3 separate regions of the Homo sapiens genome follow, and all the other regions are linked to region 3. Evidence: promoter capture Hi-C in human tissues and cell types (Jung and others, 2019). All regions are on one chromosome and are shown on one strand. The core of a region is centred on a gene start or on the middle of the fragment in contact, and the rest is flanking DNA. Distances in the headings are between cores, read along the strand shown.

What was found. The method cuts DNA at HindIII sites, captures the fragments that hold promoters and counts their contacts. A contact is called where the count stands out against the background at its distance.
Region 1: a contact is called between a fragment that was not itself captured here and the fragment with the promoter of AVP in region 3, in 1 of the 25 tissues and cell types used here (mesenchymal stem cells).
Region 2: a contact is called between a fragment that was not itself captured here and the fragment with the promoter of AVP in region 3, in 1 of the 25 tissues and cell types used here (H1 embryonic stem cells).

Annotation. Positions count from the first base shown.
Region 1 is chr20:2,875,572-2,878,762 of GRCh38, reverse strand. All of the region lies in intron 1 of PTPRA (protein tyrosine phosphatase receptor type A), which reads right to left. Among named protein-coding and RNA genes, the nearest start is that of PTPRA, 3.7 kb to the right of the region's middle. The HindIII fragment of the contact is 3,612 bases long and covers 1-3,191 here.
Region 2 is chr20:3,307,498-3,310,497 of GRCh38, reverse strand. All of the region lies in intron 20 of DNAAF9 (dynein axonemal assembly factor 9), which reads left to right. Among named protein-coding and RNA genes, the nearest start is that of SLC4A11, 70 kb to the right of the region's middle. The HindIII fragment of the contact is 8,715 bases long and covers 1-3,000 here.
Region 3 is chr20:3,083,413-3,086,112 of GRCh38, reverse strand. It overlaps AVP (arginine vasopressin), which reads left to right and starts at 1,389. Exons shown (of 3, transcript NM_000490.5): 1 at 1,389-1,558. The coding sequence starts at 1,439. The HindIII fragment of the contact is 11,932 bases long and covers 1,143-2,700 here.

The sequences.
Region 1 (3,191 bases), core at 270-2,769, 210 kb after region 3:
ATAGCACTAGATGGGTTGTCAAGAAATGGCCCCATAAATTGCTGATAGTGCTGGAAACTAGTTCAACCTTTCCAGATTGCAATTAGGCACCGAAACTGTATCCTCTGACTTGGTGAGCCCAGGTTGGGAGTAAGAGTCCAAGGAAATAATCCAAAAGAAGTATTTGAACAAGGGGTATAAAAGTACCATTTATAATAGCAAAAAGGTAGAAAAAAATAAAAGAATAAAAAGGATTGCACCAACTACAGCTGTTGGCTGAGAGTGGTGGCTCACACCTGTAATCCCAGCACTTTGGGAGGCCAAGGCGGGTGGATCACTTGAGTCCAGGAGTTCAAGACTAGCCTGGGCAACATAAAAATGTCTCTACAAAAAATAAAAAAATTAGCTGGTCGTGGTGGCACAGACCTGTGCAGTCCCAGCTATTCAGGTGGCTGAGATGGGAAGATCATTTAGCCCAGGAGGTCAAGGCTGCAGTGAGCTGTGATCATGCCACTGCACTCCAGCCAGGGTGGCAGAGTGAGACCCTGTCTCAAAAAAACAAAAACAAATTTAAAAAAAACTACAGCTGTCGATGCATGGAATACTATACTGTGATTTTTTTTTTCTTTTTTTTGAGACGGAGTCTCGCTCTGTCGCCAGGCTGGAGTACAGTGGCAAGATCTTGGCTCACTGCAACTTCCGCCTCCTGGGTTCAAGTGATTCTCATGCCTCAGCCTCCCGAGTAGCTGGGATTACAGGCACGCGCCACCACACCCAGCTAATTTTTGTATTTTTAGTAGAGATGGGGTTTCACCATGTTGGCCAGGATGGTCTTGATCTCTTGACCTCATGATCCACCTGCCTCAGCCTCCCAAAGTGCTGGGATTACAGGCGTGAGCCACCGCACCCAGCCTGTGATTTTAAATGAACAAATACTTAAATGAGTAAATATAAAATATTTTATGCTATTGAAGAATTCAAAAATCATATTCTATATGTACTGACTGCTACTATAAAAATTATGTCTTGTACACTGACACAAATGGATGTGAATTTAGAGTAAAATAAATAGTTTTACATTTAATGGATTCTCTTTTCCATAGAGAATACATTAAAATAAATTTTAATGTTGGGCTATTTTTGGGCCTGCTGTTCAGTTTTATTAAGTTAGTGTTATATTATTGCTATTTTTGTTGTACTCAGACTCACTAAAAAACCATTTCTTCACCGGGCACGGTGGCTCATGCTTGTAATCCCAGGACTTTGGGAGGCCAAGACCAGCGGATCACCTGAGGTCAGGAGTTCAAGACCAGCCTTACCAACATGGAGAAACCCCGTCTTTACTAAAAATACAAAATTAGCCAGGTACAGTGACACATGCCTGTAATCCCAGCTACTCGGGAGGCTGAGGCAGGAGAATCGCTTGAACCCAGGAGGCAAAAGTTGCGTGAGCCAAGATAGCGCCATTGCATTCCAGCCTGGGCAACAAGAGCAAAACTCCATCTCAAAAAACAAACAAACAAACAAACAAACAAAAAACATCTCTTCAGCTTTGTCATTTGGAAACATTTATTATTGCACTGGAAGTAAAATGACAAGATTCTATATTTGGCCAGTTTCCCTCTCATAACTCAAACTTCCCCTGCATCTCATTTTTTTCCATGTGAAAATGGAGAAAAATAATGCAATAATGTTTACAAACTGACACTGAGCACCTCCAATGAAAGGTGCTGGCAAATACAAACATGAGGGGTGCAAAAATACAAAACAAAACACCCACCACCACCCGCACTGATCATCCTGCACAAGTTACTTTTATCCTTCTGAGCCTCAACATCTCCCTCTGTAAATTCAAAGAAACTGGCTAGAATCGCATAGGGTGGGGGAGGATTTGTGGAGGAAAAGTAGGCATATAATAGCTGAAAAAGCATCGTAGTTGATCCTCCTGAATTCTCCAAAGATCATCTATCCAGCTATACACTTTGGGGGAGAGGATAAATTGGTACAACCCCCCAGAAACGGGTGGCAGTTTGGCTCCATGTCTGCAAATCAAAAATGCAGACATATCCCTTGACCCAGTAATTCTACTTCTAAAAGCATATTGTTCAGATAACTTTGCAAATGAGCACATAACACAGTATGTACAAGGACATTCATTGCTGTAAGAGAAGAACCTGGAAACAAATATTTAACCCAAAGATGTTACAGTACAGCCATACAACTAAATAAGTAAAAGCATGTCAACAGAAAGAACAAATAACTCTCTATATATGTTGATAATAGAATGATTTCCTAAATATGTTAAGTAAAAAAACCCAGTAAGGTGTGAGTGGTACGTCCCATGGTGGGAGGAGTATGGATAAGCAGGCACATATTTATAAAGCAACAGTGTCTATGGAAGGCCATATAAACTGAAAACTTCAGCCATCTCTGGGGAGGAGGTTAGGGAGACAGGAGACTTGGGGCCAGGGTAGGAGGGACATTTTTCTCTATATACTCTTTTGTATTGCTAGAACTTTTGAATTTTTCTCTCATCTGCATTAATTATCTTTTCCCAAAATTGAGCAGGATTCTCTCTACACCTTCCTCTGGGTCTAAGAGGCTGTGACTCTACCTCTGTCAGACCCAACCAGTGCCTCCTATATTGCAGGGGCATCTGCATTTGGCCCTATATTGCCCCCAAATGATCTTTCCAAAATTCTTTCAGCCCAAGTCCCTGACCTCCTTTAAATCCTCTAGTAGCTCTCCATTGTCCTTACCTGATCCAGCTATGATTAACCTCTTCCCTCCTCCCCAAGGACAGTGGATTCCTTCCACCACCAAGTTTGCTTGTGCTGCTCCCTCTTGCCTATGTGTGCAGTCCACCACGCGCAAACTCCTATGCATCCTTCATGATCCGAAGGCCCCCCCGTCCCAGGAAAGCTTTCCCAAATCACCCAGGCAGGGGATGCTCCCTACACAGCCTGGCAGAGGCTCTGCAAATACACGGCCAAAATTCAAATCTTGACTATTCCCTCATTTGCCCACTGTTTGGCCTCAGTTTCCAACCCTGTAGAGTAGGAATAAGCCCTTTTATGACTGTTGAAAAGACTGAGGGAATTCATGGAAAACATTACATAGCTTGTCACAAGGCAAATAAAAAATAGCTATTATTATTATCACAATCTTATAGCACCTGTGATGTATTTATATCCACCTGTCCTACATTAGAC
Region 2 (3,000 bases), core at 417-2,916, 220 kb before region 3:
GGCCAAGCTGGTCTTGAACTCCTGACCTCAGGTCATCTGCCCACCTCGGCCTCTCAAAGTGCTGGGATTACAGGCGTGACCCACTGCGCCTGGCCTATTTTAGGAATTCTTTCTTTCTTTCTTTCTTTCTTTCTTTCTTTCTTTCTTTCTTTCTTTCTTTCTTTTTCTTTCTCTTTCCTTTCTTTCTTTCCTTTTCTTTTTTCTTTTCTTTCTTTCCTTTCTTTCTCTTTCTTTCTCTCTCTCTCTCTCTGTTTCTCTCTCTTTCTCTCGATCATTAGTTCGTTTGTTCATCTTTCTTTTCTTTCTTGATGGAGTTTCACTCTTGTTGCCTGGGCTAGAGTGCAATGGCACGATCTTGGCTCACTGCAACCTCTGCCTCCCAGGTTTAAGCGATTCCCCTGCCTCAGCCTCCCGAGTAGCTGGGATTACAGACATGCACCACCATGCCCGGCTAATTTTGTGTTTTTAGTAGAGGTAGGGTTTCTCTATGTCGGTCAGGCTGGTCTCAATCTCCCGACTTCAGGTGATCTGCCTGCCACAGCCTCCCAAAGTTCTGGGATTACACGTGAGCCACTGCGCCCAGCCAGGAATTCTTTATAGATTTTGGATACTAATTCTTTGTCAATTCAGTATATTGCAAATATTTTCTTTCACCTGGTGGCTTGTCTTTTTATTTTATTTCTGATGCTTTTTCATGAATAAAAGTTCTTAGTTTTAATGTAATCAGGATAATTAATCATTTCCTATGTGATTCATATATTTTAGATCTATTGAGACTTTTCTGTTGAATTATAAAAATATAATTTTTCAAAGAATCCACCTGGATTGCTCTGTGAAAGTGATATGAGATAGAAGTCTAAGTTCATTTTTTAAATGTAGGTAGCCACCTGTCTCAGCAAAGTTATTGAAAAATCATTGTTTTCCCACTGATCGGCAGTGCCAGCTTTGTTATAAATCAAGTCTCTTTATGTGTGCATCTATTAATAGGCTCTCTGTTCTGTTCCATTGGGAAAGAAAATAACACATTGTCTTATTTTAGATAGATAACATATTTCTATATGGTGACTTAGTCTGCTTGGGATGCCATAACAAAATACCACAGAGTGAGTGGATTAACAGTAGGAATTTATTTCTCACAGTCTGGAGGCTGAGAAAATTATAACACTATACTAAAAGGCATTAAAAATGACATAAACACACATCCCATTCATGGACTGGAAAACTCAGGTTTACTTACTTGACATGGTAAAAATGACAATTCTCTCCAAAGTGATCTTTAAATTTAACATAATTTCAGGAAAAAAAAAACCAACAAGTTTTTTGAAAATCCTGAAAAGCCAACATAAAAATGTCAATAACTTTGAGCAAAGTGCTAAGAACAGCCAAGATACTCCTGAAGAAGAAAAACAAGGTGGGAACTTGCCTTATCACATTAGAGACTGAATGTTTGTGTCCTCTCCAAAATTCCAGTGTTGAAGCCTTAACCCCAAAAGTGATGTTATCTGGAGATGGGGCTTTTGGAAGGAAATAGGGGTTAGATGAGGTCATGAATGTGGGACAAGGTCTGTTGGGATGTGGTGCCCTTATAAGAGCTACCAGAGAGCTTAGCCCCTACCATGTATGCATGGAGGAGGAGTCATGTGGGCATGTGGCACCACACCTGGCTAATTTTTTTTTTTTTTTAGTAGAGATGGAGTTTCACCATGTTGGCTAGGCTGGTCTCAAACTCCAGGCCTCACGTGAAGCTCCCACCTCAGTCTCCCAAAGTGCTGGGATTACAGGCGTGAGCCACTGTACCTGGCTGGAGGGAGCCACCGCACCTGGCTGGAGGGACACTTTAAAAATGAAGGTTTTGGTCTGGCACGGTGGCTCACACCTGTAATCCCAGCACTTTGGAAGGCCGAGGCGGGCAGGTCACCTGAGGTCAGGAGTTCGAGACTAGCCTGGCCAGCGTGGTGAAACCCCATCTCTACTAAAAATACAAAAATTAGCTGGACCGTGGTGGCGCATGCCTGTAATCCCAGCTACTTGGGAGGCTGAGGCACAAGAATCACTTGAACCTGGGAGGCGGAGATTGCAGTGAGCAGAGATGGCACCACTGCACTCCAGCCAAGGCAACAGAGTGAGACTCCATCTCAAAAAAAAAAAAAAAAAAAGTAAAGTTTTGTACAGCACTGAGCATGAAGGAACTGTATAGCTGCATATTACTTGTAACATAGGTCACATTCAGGAACAGAATGTCAGGAGAAGTAAGCAAGTCACAGAAGAATACATGATTAGGATTTCATTTATATAAAAACACAGACAAAACTAAGTAATACACAGTTTACAAATACATTCAAGTGTGGTAAAACCATCCAGAATTCAGGATGCTGTTCCCCCTGGGTGGAAGAGAAGGGCTCTCATTGAGGAAGGACATCCAGGGGGTTTCAACGGTGCTAGTAATGCTCAATTTCTTAGGCCCAGTGGTGAGTTCATAGACATCTGGGTTTTGTAGTTGTTGCTTTAGTTTTTTTTTTTTTTTTTTTTTAAACCTTGTGTGTACATTTCACACACATTTATAGACACAGGATGAAAATCATCTAGCCATTGCATCATAAATTTCCCCAGCAGTGATAAATGTTCCCTCCTCACATAGACTGGGCTGTTGGAAGATTTTTATTTGTACAGCCAGTTTTCTGAAAGAGGAAAGCGAAATTCTTCTTTGGCATTTGCTTGGTATTTTGGTTTACCCTGAGGGCCCATCCCTCTTTTGTTGGACTTCCAGGGATACAGAGCTCAATCAAAGACAACCAAACTGCAGTCCTCCTGGTTTTGGGACAATAATGGGAAACTTCCTCTTATCCTGGGTTTTCAGACTTACAGAATGGAGAAGGAAGGACAGAGTTCATCCACTAAGGACACCAAGGATGGCACAAAGAGTCAGGGAGATCTCCTCAGGAGTTGGCTGCCCTGGCCCCTGTGAACCCCTGCAAAGGTATGGCCCTCAGACCACTGTCT
Region 3 (2,700 bases), core at 140-2,639:
AGAGGCCAGACCCTGAGCCAAGCTATTGGGAGCCAGTGTTCCTGCAATAACAACTGCCCAGTGTTGCCTCTCAAAGGGTCCTTGCAGTCCCTGAGGGGTCATTCCTGAAAAGACCGACGCCATGGCCTGAGTATAGGAGGCCCCTCCTGGGTTGCTGGCCCCCTCACTGCCCTTGCTGGAGATGGGGCTGCTGTGTCCCCTGGAATTTCCTCGCAGCACCTCTATGCACCCTGGAGAGGAGGCCAAGAGCCTGTGGGAACTGCGAGAGCTGGGGACTGCGCACAGCTTGAGAGGCAGGGGGTACCGGGCCTGAACCCCAGACCAGCGGGGCATTCTGGTGGCCCAGGGAGAGAGGCCATGTCCTCTTTAGACCTGCCACCTTGGGATTAGGGACCAAAAGTGGCTTTCTCAGGCTGGGTCCATTTAGGTATGGCTCCTCCTGCACCTTCCCCCAGGCCCAGACACCCCCCACCCCCGGCTCTCCCACCCCAGGCCTGAGATGTACCTGCCCTGGTTGCCACATACTAAGGTCCTGGTGGGGGTAGGAATTGGGACAAACTGTTGTCAGGTTTCCTGGGGCTCCCCCCGCCTTTGAACCTTACTTGGCATGGAGTTCTTTCTCCCCATAGTAGCTCTCCACACTCATGTTTCTACCTGGGAGGGGGTGACGGGTCATGTGCCAATGTGTCCCCAAGGCCCCCAGTTTCAGGGCCTGAGTCCCCATGCCCTGCTCTATGGGGGTGCGGGGGTGTCATGTCTTGCACTTTCCCCAGCAACCTGCCACCCCCCTACCCTGTGAGAACAAGCCCCTCTCATTCTGTGTCCCTTGACTCCACGACGGCGGCTGCCTTGTCCACGAGGCAGGGATTCTCATCTCTGGTGCAGCCCCTGTCCTCACCACTCTGGGCTTGTGCTGTTCTTGGTCCCTTATCTTGTTGTCACAGGGCTAACCCTCCCCACACACCTGGCTGTCCCCTGCCCCACAGCTCCTAGGCCAGGGCCTGTCCCTGCCCCTAACACGCAGCCCCTCGGTTCCTCTTACCCTCTTCTTGGACCCTACGCCATTTCTGGGTAATCAGAAAGCTCAGAGATGGTCTCCAGGTGACCCCCCAGTCTGTCCCTCTCCCTGAATCCAGAGCGCTGCAGTCACAGTAGAGGCAATTGCTGTCATTCCGCGGCCCATGACAGCCTGGCGGCCCGTACCCCTCCCCTATGATCCCCTGCACAGACAGGCCCACGTGTGTCCCCAGATGCCTGAATCACTGCTGACGGCTGGGGACCTGGCGGCCGTGGGCTCCTGGGGAGCCACTGGGGAGGGGGTGGCGGCCGCGTCTCGCCTCCACGGGAACACCTGCGGACATAAATAGGCAGCCAGCAGAGGCAGCAGCACAGAGCCACCAAGCAGTGCTGCATACGGGGTCCACCTGTGTGCACCAGGATGCCTGACACCATGCTGCCCGCCTGCTTCCTCGGCCTACTGGCCTTCTCCTCCGCGTGCTACTTCCAGAACTGCCCGAGGGGCGGCAAGAGGGCCATGTCCGACCTGGAGCTGAGACAGGTACTTCCCACTGTGGGCCATCTCAGGGCTGCCATAGCGGGCAGTGCTGACACCCTGGGTCAGGGGCTAGGAAAGAGGGAAGTCATGGGTGGTGGTAGCCTTTAGGGGAAGTTCGGGGGAGGAAGAGGGAGGCATGGCATGGCTGGGCAGAGGAGCCAATGGGGTGGGCCAGAGGGGACCAGGCTTTGGAGGAGGCTGGGAGAGGCTGAAGGCGCTCCTGGTCACTGTCGCCATCCAGACAGGGATGCAGGGAAATGAGGGATGCTTCCCCGGTGACTGGGCTTGGGGCTGGATAGGGAGAACGGGGCATCATGGCCTCCCCTGTGCCCATGGCGTTCTTGCATCTGGACTGGCTGGGGCAGCAGAGGCTCCATCCTACCTAGCATTGGAGGCTTTCCTCATCCAGCCCCAGCCTCCCAGCCACAGGCGCCCAGGCCCCCACACAGAAGATGGCCACTGGTCTGAGCGCGCTTGAGTGGGGCATCCTGTGGGGAAGTTCTGCTGGGAACCTGGCCTAATTCTATAGTGCTGGACGTTTCCTCCATTTCCAGCAGAGCTGAAGGAAATCCAATCACGATGTGCATGCAATTCTGTCCAGGCTCAATGATGAGCCCTTGAGCAAATTAGACCACACCAGGCTCAGCTAAAAGTCTAATGCGCTATCCATTGCGCCAGAGAACCGGCTGTTGAGCAGATGAGAGTGGCCGCTCGGCAACCCCCGCAGCCTCTCTTCCTCCTGCTAGGCTCCTTTAGGGTCCTGAGGCACCTGGGTGTCCGTGCTCGCCTCTAGGTCTCAGGCCCCTGCCACCCACCTGATAGGTCATAGGTGGCTGAGCAGGGGTCAGGGCTCCAGCTGAGGCCGACAAGCTTGGCGGGGGCCAGGGGCAAGGCAAGAGAGGAGACAGGAAATGGGAAGGGCCGGGGTTCTGGATGGGTAGGGCCTCTCCGCATGGTGTAGTGGGGAAGGGGGTGGGCCCGGGCTCAAGCCGCAGCAGGGCGAGGAGGAAGGAGGAAGGGTCTGGAGTGGTGGAGGGTGGGGCAGCTGCAACAGTGGCGCCCACCAGCGATGACCCCGAGGCTCGAGGAAGGGTTCCCCACGCTGTAGTCCACGGGAGACCCGTCCCTAGCTGAGGGTGAGGACG